6 separate regions of the Homo sapiens genome follow, and all the other regions are linked to region 4. Evidence: promoter capture Hi-C in 16 types of primary human blood cells and fetal thymus (Javierre and others, 2016). All regions are on one chromosome and are shown on one strand. The core of a region is centred on a gene start or on the middle of the fragment in contact, and the rest is flanking DNA. Distances in the headings are between cores, read along the strand shown. Region 1 has its middle 14 kb from the start of LINC01832. Region 2 overlaps LOC107985948 (a long non-coding RNA gene). Region 3 has its middle 79 kb from the start of LINC01832. Region 4 holds the start of NXPH2 (neurexophilin 2). Region 5 overlaps LINC01832 (long intergenic non-protein coding RNA 1832). Region 6 has its middle 24 kb from the start of LINC01832.

Evidence for each region. The method cuts DNA at HindIII sites, captures the fragments that hold promoters and counts their contacts. A CHiCAGO score of 5 or more calls a contact.
Region 1: a contact is called between a fragment that was not itself captured here and the fragment with the promoter of NXPH2 in region 4, in 2 of 17 cell types (M2 macrophages and M0 macrophages). The highest score is 7.7, in M2 macrophages.
Region 2: a fragment that was not itself captured here is called in contact with the fragment with the promoter of NXPH2 in region 4 in 1 of 17 cell types (non-activated CD4 T cells); the score reaches 5.5 in non-activated CD4 T cells.
Region 3: a contact is called between a fragment that was not itself captured here and the fragment with the promoter of NXPH2 in region 4, in 1 of 17 cell types (M0 macrophages). The highest score is 6.9, in M0 macrophages.
Region 5: a contact is called between a fragment that was not itself captured here and the fragment with the promoter of NXPH2 in region 4, in 3 of 17 cell types (monocytes, M0 macrophages and M2 macrophages). The highest score is 6.4, in monocytes.
Region 6: a contact is called between a fragment that was not itself captured here and the fragment with the promoter of NXPH2 in region 4, in 1 of 17 cell types (M1 macrophages). The highest score is 5.9, in M1 macrophages.

Annotation. Positions count from the first base shown.
Region 1 is chr2:138,086,000-138,089,062 of GRCh38, reverse strand. No RefSeq gene overlaps it. Among named protein-coding and RNA genes, the nearest start is that of LINC01832, 14 kb to the left of the region's middle. The HindIII fragment of the contact is 676 bases long and covers 1,289-1,964 here.
Region 2 is chr2:138,029,009-138,032,568 of GRCh38, reverse strand. LOC107985948 (a long non-coding RNA gene) reads left to right here. Exons shown (of 3, transcript XR_001739719.2): 2 at 73-134. Among named protein-coding and RNA genes, the nearest start is that of HNMT, 66 kb to the right of the region's middle. The HindIII fragment of the contact is 1,568 bases long and covers 1,126-2,693 here.
Region 3 is chr2:138,179,579-138,182,984 of GRCh38, reverse strand. No RefSeq gene overlaps it. Among named protein-coding and RNA genes, the nearest start is that of LINC01832, 79 kb to the right of the region's middle. The HindIII fragment of the contact is 4,520 bases long and covers 1-3,406 here.
Region 4 is chr2:138,778,834-138,781,984 of GRCh38, reverse strand. NXPH2 (neurexophilin 2) reads left to right here and starts at 1,595. Exons shown (of 2, transcript NM_007226.3): 1 at 1,595-1,794. The coding sequence starts at 1,744. The HindIII fragment of the contact is 12,898 bases long and covers 1-3,151 here.
Region 5 is chr2:138,105,593-138,108,940 of GRCh38, reverse strand. LINC01832 (long intergenic non-protein coding RNA 1832) reads right to left here. Exons shown (of 3, transcript NR_135526.1): 3 at 3,036-3,348. Among named protein-coding and RNA genes, the nearest start is that of LINC01832, 5.4 kb to the right of the region's middle. The HindIII fragment of the contact is 639 bases long and covers 1,340-1,978 here.
Region 6 is chr2:138,123,709-138,127,091 of GRCh38, reverse strand. No RefSeq gene overlaps it. Among named protein-coding and RNA genes, the nearest start is that of LINC01832, 24 kb to the right of the region's middle. The HindIII fragment of the contact is 2,288 bases long and covers 303-2,590 here.

The DNA of each region.
Region 1 (3,063 bases), core at 377-2,876, 690 kb after region 4:
AAAATGTGTCTGGCTAAAGAGTTACTTTCCGTAAAGGACGAGAGATTAAAAACAAATGACAGCAGGACGCAGAGCATGACTGTGTGTGCATATGTGTGTACTGTGTGCACCTTTGTGTGGGTGTACAGTATATACCCATGTTGTGTATATGGGTGGTGTGCTATAGAGTGTGTGTGTGTGCGCGCAGGTAGGTGGGTGAGTGTACAGTATATACCCATGTTGTGTGTATGTGTGGTGTGCTATAGAGTGTGTGTGTGTGTGTGTGCACAGGTGGGTGGGTGAGTGTACAGTATATGCCCATGTTGTGTGTATGTGTGGTGTGCTGTAGAGTGCGGGTGTGTGTGTGTGCGCACAGGTGGGTGGGTGAGTGTACAGTATATGCCCATGTTGTGTGTATGTGTGGTGTGCTGTAGAGTGCGGGTGTGTGTGTGTAAGGCACACATTTTTCTCCTTCCTCTGGCACCTGCTTGGGCATCCTCAGTTCTTGGCTTCTTCACAGCCAGGAGGTTTGGGGCACGGCCCCTGTTTCCTTTTCTGCTTCTCTGTGTACCTGGTGTCCCCTTGTGCTCTGCTGCCCACTGCAGGGACCCTTCCCCTCACTGCTGCCTGCTTTCCTTCCCAGCCAGAGGAAGGGGGCCATGTTCCTGGGGAAGGCGGGAAGGCCAGCAAGTGACTTTGATGGATCGCTTTGCACGGGAGACCCAGCTCTCCCAGATTAGAGAGGCTGCAGCTCGGCGCCGGTGCCTCCAACTGGGGGTTGTTCCGATGAGATAATTTTTCTCATTAACCTTGATAACTCTCTGCTGATATACGGATCTGTTTGCACTAACGCAGAACTTTTTTTTTTTTTTTTTTTTTAATATTTTTCGGTCTTCTACACCTTCCAGGCAGGAGAACTCGGAGCTTGGTGTCAGCCTCCAGGCTGTTGAGTAGCCTGGGTGCCAGCTTCTGGGTGCCCCGGCAGACCTGCAGGGTGGAGCTTAACAAGTCCCTGTGTTCAGTATCCTGGATTTTCTTGGCCATAAAGCTGTCAACAAATGTGGAATAGGTGTTGGAGTGAATGAGCAGTTTAGAGATTTAAGAAACCCATGAGGCAGAGGTGGGCTCATCTGCTCCCACTCCCCCTTCACTCCCTTTAGCCTGCAGCAAAACCCAGCTACTTGTTGTGGCTCCTTGCAATAGCTCTGATTTCAGACACCTTGGCTTCTGCCAGAACTGTCCCTGTGCTGCAAAGTGTAATGGCAATGTGCCAGAACCATTACTTGGGGCATGTCTTTTTCAGCAAGCTTTCTCTTCCCTAATTAAAGTGAATTTCTGTATTGTGTACATACTACCCTTACGGTATTTATTATAATAAATTGTGCCTATTGGTCAAGTCTTTTTCCCTGGCAGTCTGTGAGCATTTTGAGAATACAGTCTGTCATTTTCATTTTTGTTTCCTCAGCATTAATACACGGTCTGGCAACAGTGAGAATTTGGGGAATGTTTGTTGACTTTTGAAGAGAATTAAACAAGACACAAAATTAGGAAGTGCCTTGAATGCTTCATGGAGTTTAGTTTTATGGGGGAAGTTATTAGCATAGGTTGAATTGTATCCATCTGGGGCCTAATGTTGGGCCCTTACACATAGAGCATCCTAAGTATCTCCCCAGAGCCCCTCAGAGTGGACAGGGCAAGTCAATATATTGAGGATCCTGGTCAATTACAGTGAATAATTGCAAAAATGGGCCCCAAGAATTTAATAGACTAACAGATTAAACACCTTTATGAAAACCCACTGCAATACAATTATGTTGTCTATGAGGTAAATTTTAATTTTTTAAATAATTCACAATACACTACAGGCAGTGTGATCCAGTATGAGACACAAGAGAAATGATGGCCATCTTTCAATTTTGACAGTGTACTTCTGTGAGTTTATACAAAGTGATTTAAAAATTATGTCAAAGTTCTAAGTTTAAGCTTCTTCATGAATGTGATGCCTGCACAGTAGCTTTGCTTGACTTTTAGTCTCTGATTTGATCCTTCACTACACACGCATACAACAAACACCCTCTCTCCATTTTTTCCTTAGCCAGGCAGCCTTTGCTTATCAACTGACACTCCATTTTGGAAAGAGGTTATGTATTTGGGGGGAAGTAAAATTAACCTTATAATTCTTTAATGAGGCTGACAAAGACATTGTGTTGGGTCATAAAGGCAGGACAAGTAGAATGTAAAGAACTCTCCAGATGCTCTCCTCTCTGAAGAACACAGGGAGGTGTTTGCTGGCAGCTGCTGCAGTGTTGGAGCCAGTGTTGATGTTTGAAAAAAGGACTCAGACTGAAGGGAGAGGAATGATGTCATCTCTTGAAGCAGGGGCCAGTTCTTAAACTTAACACTCCTTAGAATAGACTGTGGAGATGGAGTGAATTCTAAGAATTTGTGCTTCTTACAAGTTTCTGGTTGTTGTTGATGTTGCTAGTCCATTGCTCTAAGGGAAACTGCATAAGAAAAGTGTGCCAGGTTACCCCAGAATTATTAGAGATAAGAGGAACCAGTGGGTGCTATTTGAATTATAGAGAATTTAAGATGCAAAGGATCTGATAAATCATTTGATCCACACCCTCATTTTATAAACAAAGAAATAACAGAGATCTAATGAGGGGTAGTAATATCATTTTAAAAATAAGTGAGTTGATGTTACAAATATTTGGTCACAAAGTCATCTAAAACCACCCGAGTGGTTGTTTCAGCTACTAAAGATACTAAAAAGATTATAGTGATATACAAAATAAAATTAAGAAGTGAACACTTTTCTTTATCTAAAGATTCTGGTTGCTAAATTCAATGTGAGGAGAACTATGTTCAAATTGTGCTTCATCTAAATGATTTCTTCCTACTATGTGCCAGGCACTGTACAAGGTCCTGGGGAAATAGCTTACAGTCCAGTGAAGGAGATTCACTTTTGACAGTATAGAGTTTGCCGAAGAGAAGTTTTCAGAAAAGCTCTGCCTGCAGGAACTTTTACGGAGTATCAGCCAAGTGACAGAAACTGAAATGGTTGCGAAGAAGTGGGCTTAC
Region 2 (3,560 bases), core at 660-3,159, 750 kb after region 4:
ATGAGCCACTGTGTTCAGCTGAGAATGTTTTTTCTAAGTCTCTGTTTAATTTTGTTTGTTTTCATCACTCAGGGCTCAGGTTCAAGGACAATTGCCTGAAAGAGACCTCTTCTGATCTCACCTTGTTCACAACGGTAATCACAATCCACAAGGTTATTTGTTCTCTGAAAAACCTAACTATTGAATGAGCTGGATTTGGTGTATGAAAGCAGAAAACAATTTTCTATTAACCTTGATCTCTTAACTCATTATCCTCCACACTGGGTAATCCTATTGCTTCTTCAGCTTCTCTCAGATATTAAAATTCCAATCCAGTGAAACATCCACACTTTTAATATCTTTGACTTATACTATTTAAAGCTTTTTATCTCCCCCAACTTGGATCTGCCTTGGGCTGGTAAAACGGCATTGAACAAGTAGGGCATGATCAACTTCTTTAGGATTCCCCTAAGCTTGTGTTCATCTCCTGGCTGCACCCAGCTGTCAATGCTGAGATTTAACTAAATAAAAAGTAGCTGTAAAATAATCTGTTATTAGGTGGGAGATGTAATAGGTATACCTGCTATTTTTGCAGGTAGATGACAATATATGAACAGTTCCATCCAGAAAGTCATGTGATTCTACTCAGTTTGCGATTCAGTTTGTGATTCTACTCAGATAATGAGTCAAGAGATAAAGGTTAATCAAAGAACTAATCAAAAGTAGTTCTTTCCCATCATTTAACTTTTTGTAAAAGAAGGTTTCATATTTACTTTTCTATTTGGGACCTACTGTAGGCAATTATAGCTTTCACAATATGATCCTTTAGAACTATGGTTAATAGCTTAATAGCCCTTTTGAGAATTTCTGGATTCTTGAAAATCGGAGCCCCACTAATGCGAAGGAAGTTTGCCAACAACTGTGAACACTGGAAGTGAGTGGGAAACTGAGTGTTGGTGCCCAAGTCCCAGACACAACCTCCCACTGAATGGGTCTGTTAGTGAGAGAGGGATGACCCTAGTGGGAACTGAAACAGCCTCAAAGCTGGAGGCCCTCCTCTCCCTCCCCTTCTGCACTATCCTAAGTTTCTGTCAGCACTCCACAACAAAACCTCACCACCTTACCCCAAGCTGTTAAGTGTAAGCTTGGTTGTACTTCATATCTTGAAGATTCTTATAGGCATCTTCAGATCTTCTGGGGTAATTAACTTCTGACTGCTAGAAATGACCAAAATCCCAACTTGTATGCCTGTTCATGGAGCTGTTTACCTTCAGATCTGTTTCTCAAATTTCCCCCTGCTCTGCTATGTATCACAAAGGGTGGGGAAGCAGTGGAGGGAGAAGGCTAGCTGACCCCTGCAGACTGTGTTTTCCAGGATCCTATGCCAAGAAAGGTACTAATGGAAGATTGGATGTGGGTGGGAAGGAGGGAGAAATTCCCTCTTCTGCATTTAGGGTGTGATTCCCAGGAGCCACTGTTTCTCCTCTGGGTCTCCAGAAAACCCTGTGATGAACTGCCCTGATTCCATTTTTCACCAGGTGACTGTCACCCCAGTGCTCCAGTAACAACACTCCCTTCTGGTCCCTTCAGACTTAGGGTAGGAGCTTCCTACCATCACTCATTTCTGGTTTGCCTCCCTCTGTACTGGATGCTTTCTCAGCATCCTCCCTGCATTCTATATAGCTGTGGAAACAATTCTCTGTGTTTGTTTTAACTCCTCAGAGTGGGTTCTGTACTTCTAGTGGGACCCTGGCTGATCGAGGCTGACTTTAGAAAAGGTGGGTGGGGTGGGGCAGGGCAGTGCAGAGATGAACAAAAACCTATGACTATGGTATACAGAAGAATGAGCATGCGGCTAAAAATGAACAGGTCATGAGAAATGATTCAGACTGAAAATAAGATGTTGTTATCTCCCAAAATGCTGCATTGCAGGAAGGAAGGGAATTATTCACCACCACCTTAATGCTAGCAAACCATCATACCCAAGGCCTTAACACATCAAAACCACAGGCTTTCTTTCATGCAAGAGTACATTACTGGGCTTCCCCTCTGAGAACTGCTTCACTCTCAGCAGGAAAGCAAAGGGGTCCTATCGCTCATGGAGTAGACAAGAAACCTTGTGATATTCAGGATGGGTGATGGGGATGCAAGCCTCAAAATGGTTACTTGAAAGAGGTATTCCTAACACATTCTATAACTATTAGTGAGTTCCTACCATGTGTTGTGTTGTTTTAGGTACTGGGGATAGAGCAGTAAGCAAATAAAAAAAATGTCCTGTCTTCAAAGAATGTATAATATTGCAGTGGAAGGATGGGAGAGACAAACAGACAATAAACAAAATAAATAAATAACATTTTTTTTAGTGGGGATATATGCAACAGAGAAAAATAATGCAGGGAAGTGGATAGTACGTGTTGAGAATAGGGGGTTGAAATTTTAAATACAAGGTCAGGGAAGGCCTCAGAGTGGCATTTAAGTAAAAATCCAATGGAGGTGAAGAAGAGAGTCATGGGTTTTCTGGGTAAAGGACATTCAGGAAAAGAGGTGGAAAAGATTTAGCATCATTTTGGGATAGGATGTGAGAAATAGAAAGGACTCCAGGAAGAATTCAAGGTTTCTGGCCAGAGTTTCTGGAAGAATGGCATTATTTGAAATGGGGCAAAGATGAGATAGAAGATATTTGCTTGGGGTTGGGGTCAGGAAGATCAGAAGCTTAATATTTAGACACATTAAACTTGGTAAGCCTATTAGACATTTAACAGGGGATGTGACATAGGTAGTTGCTTCTATGAATCTAGAATTCATAGACAGAGAGAGAGAGAGAGAGAGATTCTAGAGTTGTCAGCATATCAACAGTACTTAAGCAGTATGTAAAGCCCCAAGAGAATGAAAGTGAGCATAAACAGGAAAATAAAAATTCCAAAATGAAGTCCTTGGTACTCCACCATTAAGAGGTCAGGGAGATGAGGAAAAACTCAAAAAGAAGTTTAAAAAGTAGTGGCAAATGAGGTGTGAGGCAAAACATCAGGGGTGGGGGTGTCCTGAAAGTCAATTGAAGAATGTGTTTCAAGATAGAACATGTAAAATACTGCTAGTAGATGGAATAAGTTGAGCACCAAGGACTTACCACTGGATCTGAGGTCTGCCAAGAGCAGACTGATGGGGCTGCCAAGAGCAACATTAATGGAGTGGTGTGGAGAAAACATGGGGTGGAATCAAGGAAGAATTATGAAAGAAAATGAATCCCAGCAAATATAGAAAACACTTTCCAGGAAATTTTCTGTAAAGGGAAAGGCAGAAATAAATAGTGGCTCGAGAATGAAGTAGAGGTAAAAAGAAGGTAGAAGAATAAAAAGCAAGTTATTATGTTGGTGAAAAAGACTTAATAGAGAAGAGAAAATCATGGTTTGGGAAAAAGAGGGGATAATTGCTGCCGTGATGTCTTCAGACAGCACAGAGGAGTTGGGACTTGGTGCACAAGTAGAGACACTCACATCAGCTAGAAGCATGGACATTGCATCTATGGTACTGTTATAGGAGTTATTAAGAAGTTACTTTTGGCAGATAGAGAGGAAAAGGGT
Region 3 (3,406 bases), core at 652-3,151, 600 kb after region 4:
AAGAGGACAGTGAACACCAAAAAACACAAACATTTAGAAGGAATTTGCAAATAGCAGCTTTCCTGTTAAGATGTATCAGGCAGAATGCACAGAGGAGAGTTCTGGCCCTAATTTAGTGCAGGTTTGTATTTGGCACACGTTACCTGTAGAGTATTTGGGTAAATTACTGATGTCAGTTGTATTTCTCTTGGAGACGAGGGAAATAGGTTATTGGCACAATAAAACATCCAGACGCATTTAAAATGTCAGTCTAATCGCAAGAACCAGTAAGGCTTTTAATTACCTTCTGTGCAATTTTTTTTAATTGCTCCGATGGCTGTAGCGCTTGGTAAGTTCCTGACAGAGCAGCTGCAACAAACTTAATTTAAACATTTTTTTTTTCCTGGAGCTCTCTGAAAAAAGAAATCTGAGATGCAAGGTAAATGTTGGAAGTCTCTTTTGTTCCAGGATCTCTGTAGGAATTCTCATTGTTTGGTCACTAATAGAATCCCACCTTCATGTTAAACCAACCTGCAGGTTTTTTCTTTGCTGATGACATTCTTTGTAACAGGTGTGTGTTTGTCATCAGGCTGTCTCTTAGAATACTCTGAATCAGCCAGTCTCTGGCTGATATATACTGAGTATATGCTGATATATACTCTGGTGCTTGCTTAATTCTGAACTTGAAAATAGAAGGATGCACAGTTCCTTTCTTGAGATGTGTTGGACCTTGACATGAGGGGGACTATTTTCTACTTGTTAGCTCTTCTTTCCACTTTATACAGCTATGCTTTATTTATCTGCAAACTGTCTTTATTCTTTAGGGCCTTGATTCTCTCCTTTAAGAACTGTTCTCTTAGGAAGGGAACATGTAGTATGACCTGATTAAAATTACAAAGGCTTTACAATCTAAGATATCTGGGATTGAATTCCGGTTTGTTATATGCTACCTCTATTTAACCTCGGTTTACTTCTGTAAAGCAGAGATGATAATGTCTGCCCCACAAAATTGTTATGAGGGTTTAACAAAGTAATATGTCAAAAGTGACTGTCAAGAGTAGGTTTTTCCTTTGAGTTAGTATCTGGACAGTACCTGCCTCCACTTTTCCCTCTGCTACTTCCCTCATCTGGATGTGTGTAACCACATGTGCATTGCTAACTGTGTCTTGACACATGGCAGGTCATGCCTCAATTAGATATGAGTAGCAAAGGCTAGGCCTGAGGTTTATTTGCTACATTAAAGGTATCTAGTGAAGTGCCCTTAGCAATTAATTTTTTTCATTGATGTGCTAACAGATTGAAAATATTCAGGTACTTTAAGCCTGTTAGGAGATGGGCTGCAAGTTAGGGTCGGTTTGATGCTAGATATTTCTAAACGTTTTGTGCCCTATGAAGGGTAAGAACTAGTTAAACAGAGTTGTAGAATACTGAAGCTGGAAGGCTTTATTTCTAAACGTTTTGTGCCCTATGAAGGGTAAGAACTAGTTAAACAGAGTTGTAGAATACTGAAGCTGGAAGGCTTTATTTCTAAACGTTTTGTGCCCCATGAAGGGTAAGAACTAGTTAAACAGAGTTGTAGAATACTGAAGCTGGAAGGCTTTTCTGTTTTTATGTAATTATATATTTGTCAATTCCACAAAGTCAATTTTTTTGAGCAATAGAGCTATAGATTGCATTTGATACAGGAATGTGGGAAGTGTTTGAGTTCAGTTTCTCAGCAGAAATCATCTGAGCATCTCATTTCCTCTTCTGAGATTTAGCTCTGGGTTACAGGACTGCTCAATCTATTGACACTGTTAGCAGCAAGGTCTTTCCTTGCTTTTTCTGTGTGGCACTCAATAACAGGCCACAAAGGTTACACAGGATAAGGGGCATCACCATGAGCTGTTGAGTAATAGTGGGGACTGAAAAGAACTGTCTAAAGGGAATACTGATCTAAGGAAGGCAGAAAATGATAATGGATCAGAAGTCCCTCATAACAGATTTTCAAAGTCTGGAAGGATCACTTCTGTTGCTGCATGTCAGACCTTCTCCTTTGTGTTTTCATTTTCATACTCTCACTCCAAATTTCCCCATAGTCCAGGCTTCTTGGAATGGAATGAAAGGGAGCCCCCTACCCTCCACTTCTGCATATACACTGCTTCTACATCCTGGTAATGTTGATAGCTGCCTTCCAGTGATACAGCAAGCATTTAGGAAATGCCATTTTAAATGCATTATGTTAATACATATGTGTAAAATAAATAATGCCCATAAATCTCTTTATTCTTATAACAATGCTTCAATATTCTAACTTTACAGATGAAAAACACTCTGAACAGTGCTAAAAAGGGTGGCTAATTTAGGATTTATGTTCAGTTATGTAAGACCCCAAAGCCCTAAATATTTGTACTGTTATTCATTTTCTTTTATTCTGTTCCTGCAATAAGAGCCATGTGAGAATCTCCTGGAAAATTCTGAAAATCGCTCTTTAAGATCCATTAATTCTAAAACACTACTAATCCACTTTTGGAAATCATGGACATAGTGAAAGCCAGTTACTCATGGGAGACTCGACTATCTCTTAGCAGCAAAAAGTTGAGAGCTGCTGATCTTGACATCTTCTTATACAACACTTTTTCCATTCCCAGCATGATTCTGAGTGTGCATGTATGTGTGAGTGTGTGTGCATGTGCGTACCTGATGCATTACATGTGGTGTCTTGAAATACACTGGAATTAATGATAGCTGTCTTGGTCTACATTTTCTGTACATTTACATGTACAGAAGCATGCACTTCTGTCCCTTTCCCTGCTGGCAAACCTATTATCATACCTATGAGGCTGGTATGAGGAAATCTGCCCGTTTGTGAATATCTTAGTGAAGATCCTGGTGGGAAAAAGGTGACACATTCAAACTGGGAATAATTAGGGAGAGATTATTTACGAAGATGTGGTTAGGAAACCAAGAGAGTATAGTGGAGTTCCATAGGGCACAGAAACACTGGGAAGCCATTATCACACCCAGGTTTGAAAAACAATGGGACTGAGAAGTTATTGGAATCCAGATAGAGGCTATATGAAGAGAGTCACCTGTCAACAGCTTTGACCTTTAATGGAGGCACGCAGCCAACATATGATGACCCAAAAGGAAGGTTATGGGGTGAATAGATGTCTTGACCTCATTTCCTCCTGTTCTCTGATTTCTTCCCCTTGCATCCTGTTGGCCAGCCCAATAGGAAACTGGGGGGCTTGAGAACCCACAGAAGTAGGAGACACAGGTCAGCTTCCAGGAGTGCAGAGAAGGGGGAAGAAAGGCAAAGAGTGAATCTAGAGTGGCAAGCAGAAGACAGCTAGTTAGGCAAATAGATTGGCATATCTGTGAATTGTCAGCAGGGCCAATCAAAGTTATGGAAAGCAGTAAGGATTACACTAATGCAAATTCTAAA
Region 4 (3,151 bases), core at 346-2,845:
TTCACACTGGGATCCCAGAACACTCTGGAATAACCTCCCTCCCCATCTGCACAATCTTGGCACACTCAGTGAAAGGAATAGTAGGATTTTGCCCTAGTCAAAGCAATCCTCCTGCCTTTGAAACCTAGGACCAAGGCTGCTCTGCTTCAACCGCTAAGATTTAACAACCCTCCTTCATTTCTATTTTGGGGTGGGGGTGGTAAGCAGAGGAGAAGGAAACTTTTTTTTTTTTGTCCAAAAATTACAACTTAATCTGTGCTTTTTGTTGGGTTTATTTTTTAAAGCCTAGAAATCAATTGCAATTCTACTCCCTTGCTTCAACATGGTTTTCTTCTCTAAGAGCTTTGCGTTTCTAGATGTAAGAAGCATTCTCGCCTTGGGTATTCTGTCGGAGCAACTGCCTAAAGTCTCATCCTTGGAGAAGTGAATGTATCTCTCTGGACCTTAGGTTTCCCACCTGTTCAATAAAGGAGTGACGAATGACGCCCAAACTCTGATCTACCGTAAAAACAGTGCAGGTCTGTGAGCCCCATTGCCTTTGATTTTTCCACTCGAGTGTCCAGCACAAAGATAGTAAAAGGTTAAGGATCTCTCCAATGGCGAGTTGTTAACACGGAGGTCGAGGCTCACAGGCATCAGGTTTGCACCTTCGCCCGTCCGCAAAGATACCCCTCTCCAATATTTCTGAAGTCGGAGGCTGTGGTGGGGTATCCTGCCTTTATTCTGCTTCTCCAAAGCCCGGGCAGAAGGTCTGGGAGCAACTTTGTCTGTCTTCAGGACACCTAGCTGTCTATACCATCCCCAAACCGGAGTAAACCAGACATCACCTAGCTCCGTTTCTCACAGTTCTGCTCCTGGTCCCTCGAGGTCCCCATTACTCCCCAACCCCAGAAATCCTTCCAGCCGCACCAGGCGCACTTTGTACCCCTTACCCGCGGCTCTGCGAGCTTGGCGCTGCGGCAGAGTAGGGCACTCTCCCAGGGCGTCCTGGGCTCCAGCCTCACCTCCCCGCCCCAGCCTTTTCCGTTCGCAGCTCCCCACGCCCCGCCCCAGGACTCTGCAATCGCCTTCCCCTCCTAAACTCTCTGGGCGCTCTCCAGGCGGGCGCACTCTTTCTTGCAGCCACCCAGGGAGAACCTTTTCTTCCCCTCATCCCCAATCTCCCCAGCCAAAGCGAGAGCCAGTCAGTTGGCAGGGCGCTTGGCACAGTGGAGCCTCTCGGACCGGCCTTCTGCTGGGCGGGGGTGGGAGGAGGCACCCGGCCTCTCGGGGCTCTGGGGCACCGGCTGGCCAGGCGTGCTCAGCTCGGCCAGGCATCCGCCCGGCGGGATCGGATCTGGAGGGCAGCCTCGCACTGAACCCATCACCCAAGCGCCCGAGCCGCCGCCTCCCTCCCGCAGGCGCCCCACGCGCTCACCCCAAGCCCGGCCAAGCGGGAGAGTCCAAGGCGCGACTGAAGCCCCCCGCCGCGTGCCGGAGCTCGAGCTGCCCCGCAGGCTCTTTGCCGGCCCCCTCCGAGGAGGGGCGCGCGGGGGGCCGGGAGAGGCACCTCCGGTCCGCCCACCCTCCCCCTTCCCTGCCCGCCCACCCGGCCAGAGCTGCGCGGCACGGCGCAGCGCTCGGATTCCGGGAGGGAAGCGCCGCGCTGTGTCCCTGGCGTCCTCAGTCCTGCCCCGCGAAGTGGAGATGCGCGAGAGGCAGGCGAGGGCGCGCAGCTCGTGAAAAGCCGCGCCAGCCGGCACCATGCGCCTGCGGCCGCTGCCCCTCGTGGTGGTCCCTGGCTTGCTGCAGCTGGTGAGTGCCCGGCCCGCGCGCCGTCCCACACGCCGGGGACGCGTTTCGGCGGGAAAACCGCGCAGGCGGCTGACTTGGAGCCCAGCCTGGGCCTGCTTGGGAAGTGGGGTTGGGGGCGCGCGGAGGGCAAGGAGTTTTGGGTTGCCTTAGAGGTCGAAAGGGAAGAATTGAAGAACGGAATAGACGGGATCTACAGGCGACTCAGGGGCTTAGCACGGGTTGGGACTTGAGCGCTGGGGTAAAGTAGGCAGAAGGTGGCCGGGAAGTAGGTCCGGGAGAAGGAAGCGGTTTATTGATAAGCGGTCAAGGAGAGGAAGGAAAGTAAATTGATAGGATGAGAAGGGGCAGAAAGACCTTCCTCCTGTTCACAGTTTGAGAGGCTTGGTGGTGTTTATTTTTCACGTGGTGTTTTGCCCAGATGCACACAGACACTTCTCCCAAAGCACAGCATAGTGCATGCATCCTCGTTCTCAGAGCCAGGTAGTGGCGCCTTGCTGGGAGAAAACTTAGGCAAAATACGGATTTGGGGGACAGCTTGGATTTCTCTTCGTTTTCCGTCTGGCGCTAGGGACTGGGATGGGGCTTTCTGCCAGCTGGGGACACAAGATATAACTTTCATGCCCAGCTCCGCGCAGGAGCCCCCTCTCGGGCATCTCGAAGCTGTCTTTTCAGGGAGACCGCCCGCCTGGTCTGGGTGGCTCGGAGGCGCTGAGGAATAAGAAACGTATTAAAATGTGGTTTGGGGTTCGCGTTGTCACTCTCTTCTCTCTTCCCGCGAGGCGCCACGCTCTCCTCCTCCTGATATACGCCTATGTTCTATATGCATGGCTAATTATAGTTGAGGGAAAACCAAAGTAAGATCTTCAAGAAGAAACTTTTAAAGTAAAATTACAGAAGGGGAGTGCTTTGGCTGGGTCAGCATCTGTGATGGATTTCTTCTGGTCACTTAGCTCTTGCCTTGTTAGGGTGCTATTAAGAGGGCTTTCTCCTGATGCCATAGTTTCTTTGGTCCTCATACTTAAGACTTTGCCCAAGCACTTAGAAGATGACAGTCTCTTCTCTCTCGCTCGCTCTCTCTCTCGTTCTCTTTGTCTCTTTCTTTTCCTATTAGGGGGAAAATCAAGTAACTTTGAAAGTTTATGATATGTATGATATTGTTAAGGCAGAGGCACTTTGCAAGTTCTGAGGGTGGAAGGAACTCTAAAAGGTGGAGAGACCTCTGAGATGCCCGTGGTCCATGCTTGTTACGGTGGAGATTAGCTTCACCTGCACAGCGTTAACTCAGAAACTCTTCAATGGCATCAAGAAGAAAATGCAATGATATGCCCAAATATCCTTGAATGAGCCATCACATACT
Region 5 (3,348 bases), core at 410-2,909, 670 kb after region 4:
TAACAAATGTAAGTTACAATTCTGACAAAGGCAATAAAAGAAAGGTATGTGGTTCATATGATAAGGGGAATCCAACCTCCTGATGGTGTTCTTTAACTGAGCTGTGGAGGATGGAAAGAATTTAACCAGGTAAGAGGATAGAGAAGAGAATTTTAGTAACTAGAAACAGCAAAAGTCAGGAGAGGGCATGACAGATAAAAAGCACCACCAGTAAGCCAGTGAGGGTGCAATAGAGAGAAGGACAAGGTGCTGGAAAATGAGGTTTGGGAGGCAGGTCAGACCTGGATCACACATCGCTACTTTGGTCATGGTGAGGACATTCTGCTTTAACGTAAAGCAATGAGATTTTGAGGGAGATGGGAGAGTGATGAAGGGAAGTGATGTGCATCTTGAGACCATCACTTTGATAGATATTTGACTGCATATCTTTTTATATTCCTTAACTTTATCCTTCATGTATCTCACTTTAAATTTTCTGTTTACTCTGATGGTTATTGTCTTTGGAAGCAGGCATATTTGGACATAAATTCGAGTTCTACCATTCACCAATTGTATACTTATTCTTCTCTGATTCTCCATTTTCTAAACTATACAATGGTGATGGTAATTCTTATCTCAAATTTTCTTAGGAATATATGCGATGGTATCTATGTAATTTCTGGCACACAATGTCAACAAATGCTAGTTTTTATTATTATCCCCTCTAATAATTTACTCCTCTTGTAATCACATTTTTCTGGATAGGATCCATTTTAGCTTTTTAAATTTTTTAATAAGAAGGTGGAATCATTGATCTACTATCCATAAAAGATGTTATTTCATTTATTTCCCATAGAGGGGATGGGAAATAAATGAAAGCCATTACCTTTGCTCCCCAGCACCTCTAAATGTAATGCCCATGCATTACATTACTTTGTCTAGCAATAGTTTACCTGAAGTAAGGAATTAATATCATTACCCTTTTAGAATTTTGCTATATTGAATAGTATAAAATGATTCCAGATTCCAAGAAAAGGGTAAGGCATGAGTTAATTTAGGTTGTATTGACACCACTATCAACCATTAACTGGAGGGCGTTTACCTTTCTCAACTGGATAGAGTAGCCCAGTATAAAGCCAGTGTAGCTGGTCTTACACTATTGAAAAATTGTTCACCCCACCTACTAAGCTGTTGAATGTGCAGTGAAGTTCAATAAGCAAGCTCCAGACACTATTTAAAATGAAAGTGGCCAGTTTTGAGTAAGACAATGAAAAAGTTAGGTGGAATTTTTCCAACGAAGGGTAAAATATCAAAATTAATTTTGGGGGAAAATTAAGATTCTCCTCACAGTCTCAAAGCTTTCTTCTCTAATCACACTTCAGACACTATCAGTGAACAGAGAATCTTTGTATTATTTCCAAGTTTCTCCCATTGTCAGTCACTGTGACAAAGTGCTGGCCAGTCTGACATAATGATGAATCACTCCAGACATTGAGTTTTCACATAGCTGTCGAGGGTTCTCGGTAGACTTTGTTGTCTGAAAATGCTACGGACCAATACTAGGTGCTCTGCTCATGAACAAAGCCAGGATTTGGCAAAATTAAACATATGTATTTTAGAAAAAAAAAGAGAGGTGTAATAAACATTTACTATTTCTGTTCCTACCATGTCTTCATGCTGCAATTGATTTAAATGCCTATTAAACAAATCCTCACTTCCCAAACCTCATCTCTATATTCTGCTGGAATGAGTTAGATTTCAGAGTACATTGAGAAGTTGAAATATCAAACAAACATTTTTATTTATTGTTTTCAGCTACAAAATAGCATGTGGGCTCTCCTTACCCTTTATCCTGGAAATTTTAACATACCACATAATTCTTTGCTAATAATATTTTTAACTGATTAGAACTTACAAATCGAATGCTGAATGATGGATTGATGCATAGCTCAATGTAAATGTACTTGTAATGTCTACCTTAGTTTCCTGTTAGAAAGCTTGTCAATACACCAGTGCCTCAAATCCATTTTCTCAGTAAAAATGTTGCAGTTTTCTGATTATTATTCACAAAGGCAGCTTCCTGAGTTATTTCTTCTCCTGCACAATATTCATGATAGCAATTTGATACCTTAGCAGTTTCAAGGTTATCAAGTGATGGAAAATCCTACTGCTTACTTCAAGGTGTAACATATACAACTGTGCTGTCATCCATTATAGCATTATAGCAGTATAATAGTTTTTCGTAATGCCTTTCATGAACTGCTGATTTAGAAGTGTAAGCCTAACTTCTGAAGGCACTTATCAGTCTCAGGCTAGGGGAGTATTGCTTCACTGGAAAACATCAGCAGGGACCCTTTGTGCTACTGGAAAAGAAAAAAAAGGAACTAACTTTCATTTCTCTCCTAGATAGTGTTAGAGCCTTGTCCTGTGAAGTCATTAAAGTGCATCTGCAAAAAGAAAGAAACAAACAAAAGCCATGGTTTAGCCTTTGAAGGGCTAGTGCTAATCAGCAATGAATCTTAGAAGGAACCATTTGATTTTGCAGATTGTGGAGGTTAAGTTAGAAAAAAGACATTACTGAGAGAAATGATGGAGGAGATTTTGCTAAAGTAACAACACAAAAAAGTCAAGCAAATTCATAATGATGCTGGGAGGTAAAACCCATCATTACTGAAAGCACCCTTTGCACATATTGTTCTATCCACGCATTGAATTTTGGTTTAGGGGTCTCTGGTTGAGCAGAGGGTTGCTTGAGTGAGTTTAGAAGGTGGCATCTGTTTAAGTAACAGATGTCTGTGTCACCAAGGTGCTGTGTTCTCACTTTTTATATAGGGGAAATTGCTGCTGAAAGAGTTTTATTGTTTTTATGCAAATGAAAATATCATATTCTTCTCCTTAAAGGGTTTCTCTTCCTGATGTGGATCCACAACAATCACAAAGGACCCCAGCCTCTTGGACTTTTTAAAAATATATTTTGGAATCTGATAAAGTTTCTTATGCACTGCCAACTATGCATGAAATGAGATCTGGAATTGTAGACATACTTGCTCTTTTTTAACAAGGCCCCACTGGGTTGAAGCAAATTGAGCAGGGTAAGAGTCAATGCTGACCCTTCTGTGGCACCAAGAAACTGGATCTGTAGAGGCATTCACACCCCTTGAGCTAGCTCTAAGCATGGAGGGGAAGGCTTGCCTTAGGGCATAATTTTGACTTCGTTCATTTGGTTCTTGGCTTCTAGAAATTTCTGATTCCTTTTATTTTCCAGAAGAGATGAGGGAGAGTGGAGTCATCCAAAAACACCCTTCAAGTAGACACATATAATTAACTATGACAAATATTCTGGGTGATAAGATGAGAAGGAAGCAGGAA
Region 6 (3,383 bases), core at 197-2,696, 650 kb after region 4:
CACTCGGTTAAAATCAAAGTGTAGGCAAGGCCACATTAATTTCGCAGTCTCTAGGAAAGAATATCTTCATTTTTTCTAGAGGCTGCCTGCATTCCTATGCTCATGTCCCTTCTGCCTTCAACACCAACTTCGGGTTGAATCCTTCTCATATTGCCATCTCTTTGGTTCTCTTCCATCATCATTATCACCTTTCTCTGAGTAACTAGAGGCAGGAAAGGGCCTTTGCTTTTAAGCACGCATGTGATTAGATTGGACCTACCTGGCTAACCCAGGACAATTTCCCATCTCAAAGTCCATAAGCTTCCTCACATCTGCCAAATCCCTTTTGCCACGTAAGGCAACATACTCATGGGTTCCAGGTGATTAGGGTATGGACATCTTTGGGCAATTATTCAGCGTACTACACCTCTCAAGACCTGTCTACAGGTTTCCAGGCTCCCAGCCTCTGGACTTCTAAAAGTCAAGTACGTATTCATGTGGATCTTATTCCTGTATGGATCCAGATGGTTTTAAGGTTGGGGGCGGGGATGCTTGTAGGTGTCCTGCCTCAATGCCTGTAAATGAATGCATTGAGTCAGGTGGGTGGGCTGACACAGAACAAGCATGGTGATTATAATGATCATTTGAAATGTTATTCCTTCCTCTTTTATCATTTTTAAAATGTAATATTTAGAAAAATCAGCTGCTACCTGTATATGAGGTGGCTTTTTATATCTAATTCTCAAAGCAACCTAGTAATTATGAAGATGAGAACTGCACAATGAAATTTAATTTCATGAGGATAATAACAAGGGGAAAAAATTCTTTTTTTTATTTTCAAGAAGGATTGGAAATTAGTCCTTCCCTTCCTCCTCTGCGGTTTCTAGGCTATGCTCTCTTAATGGATTTTTATCTGTTTTATAAGTAATTTCCTTAATATTTCAATGGTCACAGATAGTCGAGATCGTACGTCTTCTCAGCAAACATATATTTCATCAGCACTGTCACAGTCTAGAGTCCCAGAGCTTGTAGACTGATGTTTCTGGCCCTTCCTGCTATCAGACACATAGCACAGAAATAAATGTGTTTGTCTATTGGAGGCTTTAATGAAATTGAAAATGTAGCAACATTTTTCAATGTCAATAAGCTAATTTTCTTGTTTAGATGCTAATGTTGGTTTTTCCTGAGGATTCCATCCTCTAATTGTGAGTCATGACTTTTCTTCCCTTTGTCCAAATGCTATTTCTGAGAATGGCTTGAATTATGCAGGGTGGTTTCCGATTCCAGGTAGGACGAGATATTTTTGTTTGCCTAAACCTATGGCATGAGATGAGAGTCGAAGAGTAAGAGAAGCACTTGAGCTTTATTAAAAAGTGTTTACTAAGAATTTGAGGGTTTACACAATGCAGTAAGCACTGAGCTGAGAGCTGAGCAAATTCTGTCCCTGGTACTATACTTTTATTGGCTTGTACTGCAATTATTTCCATCTTACTAATGAAGAAATGAGCTCAAAGGAGCAATTAACTTGCGTAACTTTTTAGAGTTAGTATGTTGGGCGGAGTTAGGGTCATATCCACATCTGACTTCAAACCCCTGCCTGCTTCTCACATCACTCAGTCCTCAATACTCCTTCTCGTACCTACCCTCCTACTGGGGCTGAAGAAGCACAAGGGAAGGAATGTTGTCCTGCCTTTCATTTCTCTCCACCTCGGTTTCTATATCAAATCTGAATTTTACAGTTTGGTGATTCAATAACATTTTTACTAGGTAAAGACTAGTTTCTGTTCCCAATTCCAGAGTATTAAGATTAAAAAAAAATACCATAAAATCAGACCTGGATTAATTCATGCTCTTTTGTGCCCTTTTACTGCTCATTATTATTTTCTTCTTCCTCTCTCCCTCCCTTCTCCTTTCCTCCCCCCGTCCCCCCGACCACCACCCCTGTTATAAACAAACAACTGTTTTGTTAGTCGTTACCTAACATCTTTTGAATAGCTCTTCTATCTGGGAGACATTCTCAACATTATAAACCCGGCTGCCAGGGTGGGAAGTGAATTCATTCCCTCACTCTCCCTGGCTGTCTGGGTGCAGGAAGGGGATCTGGGCCACCCATCAGACACACCCATGAAAAGATTTTTTTGAGTTAGGAAAATAAGATAGAAGTTTACTTGCTCTTATAGAAGAGTAAAGATCTATCATCCTAGACTGATATCATGCTTTGGTCTCAGAAATCCATAGGGACAAGACTCCTTTCAAGTGATTAGTTCACAACCCCAGGGAGTGTGACTCATCTTCGCTATACTAAAAGCTAACATAAAATAACTTCTATTTTCCACTGGCCTAAACTGGCCACAATTTGATTAAGTGGGGGCTAGGAAATGTAGTTTTTACTCTGAGCGGCTGGCCATGTGACCAACATGACAGATGGAGAGAATATATTACAATGAGAGATGGAGGGAATATATGTTGGGGTACAAACAGCAGTCTTTCCTACAGAAGGGAGCAATATGATGTCATAGACACTCATTGAGTCTATCTTTCAGCAATTAGTGGTTCCAAGTGCTTCCAAGCATTTGGCTCCTCAGAGGCATTTAATGTCCGATCTTAAGCTTTGATATTTCAATGAACTGAGATATAGGTGACACACATTAACAGCAGTGGTATTTTCGTGGGTCATTTTCATGCATTGAGTATCGTCCCATGACTCTCTGTGGCTCTTTGGACCTCCTGATAATACTGTCAGCTACTCAGTATCCGTAATAAATTTTATTTACCTCTACCAAAATTAACTAGATACAGTCTATAGTTTGCAGCTAAGAAACATCTCCTTACCAGTTCCCTTAAAAAATGACTATAAATATTTCTGTGTTTTTCAAACTCAGATATCCAAACTCTGCTTCCTTTAAGAGTAAAAGTTAATGAACAACAACTCCTTAGTCTTCCTTTCCATCATTCAGAATTTCTTATCTAGTTATCACTAGCCTGCCCCTCTGTTCTCTGTCCCTGACAATGAAGTGTCTCTGCTCCTTATCTGAGATGAGTTTTCCAGCCTTAAGATTGAGCTCAAGCCTTCTGCTTTCTCTGGAATATTGCTCTAGAATTCCCACCCTCAACCCCCCACACACATGCACTTATATCTTAAATCTTTTTCTCTCCCTTGTCTCTCAGCACACAACCTGTCATGTCTTCTTCTCCTGATACTCCCTTCTCCCCACACAGCTACATTTTTAGGATGCCATTCCATTATTTTGTCTACTTTCTCTCCCAGTTCTTCACCACTCACTCATCCCTAAGGCTTTTATAATCTGGTCTCCACACCAGTTTGCTGAAGCTACTTTATCAAGTCATTCCCAAACTCCTAATATCCAAATTGGAATCGTTTTCTTATTGGTATCCTCAAATTT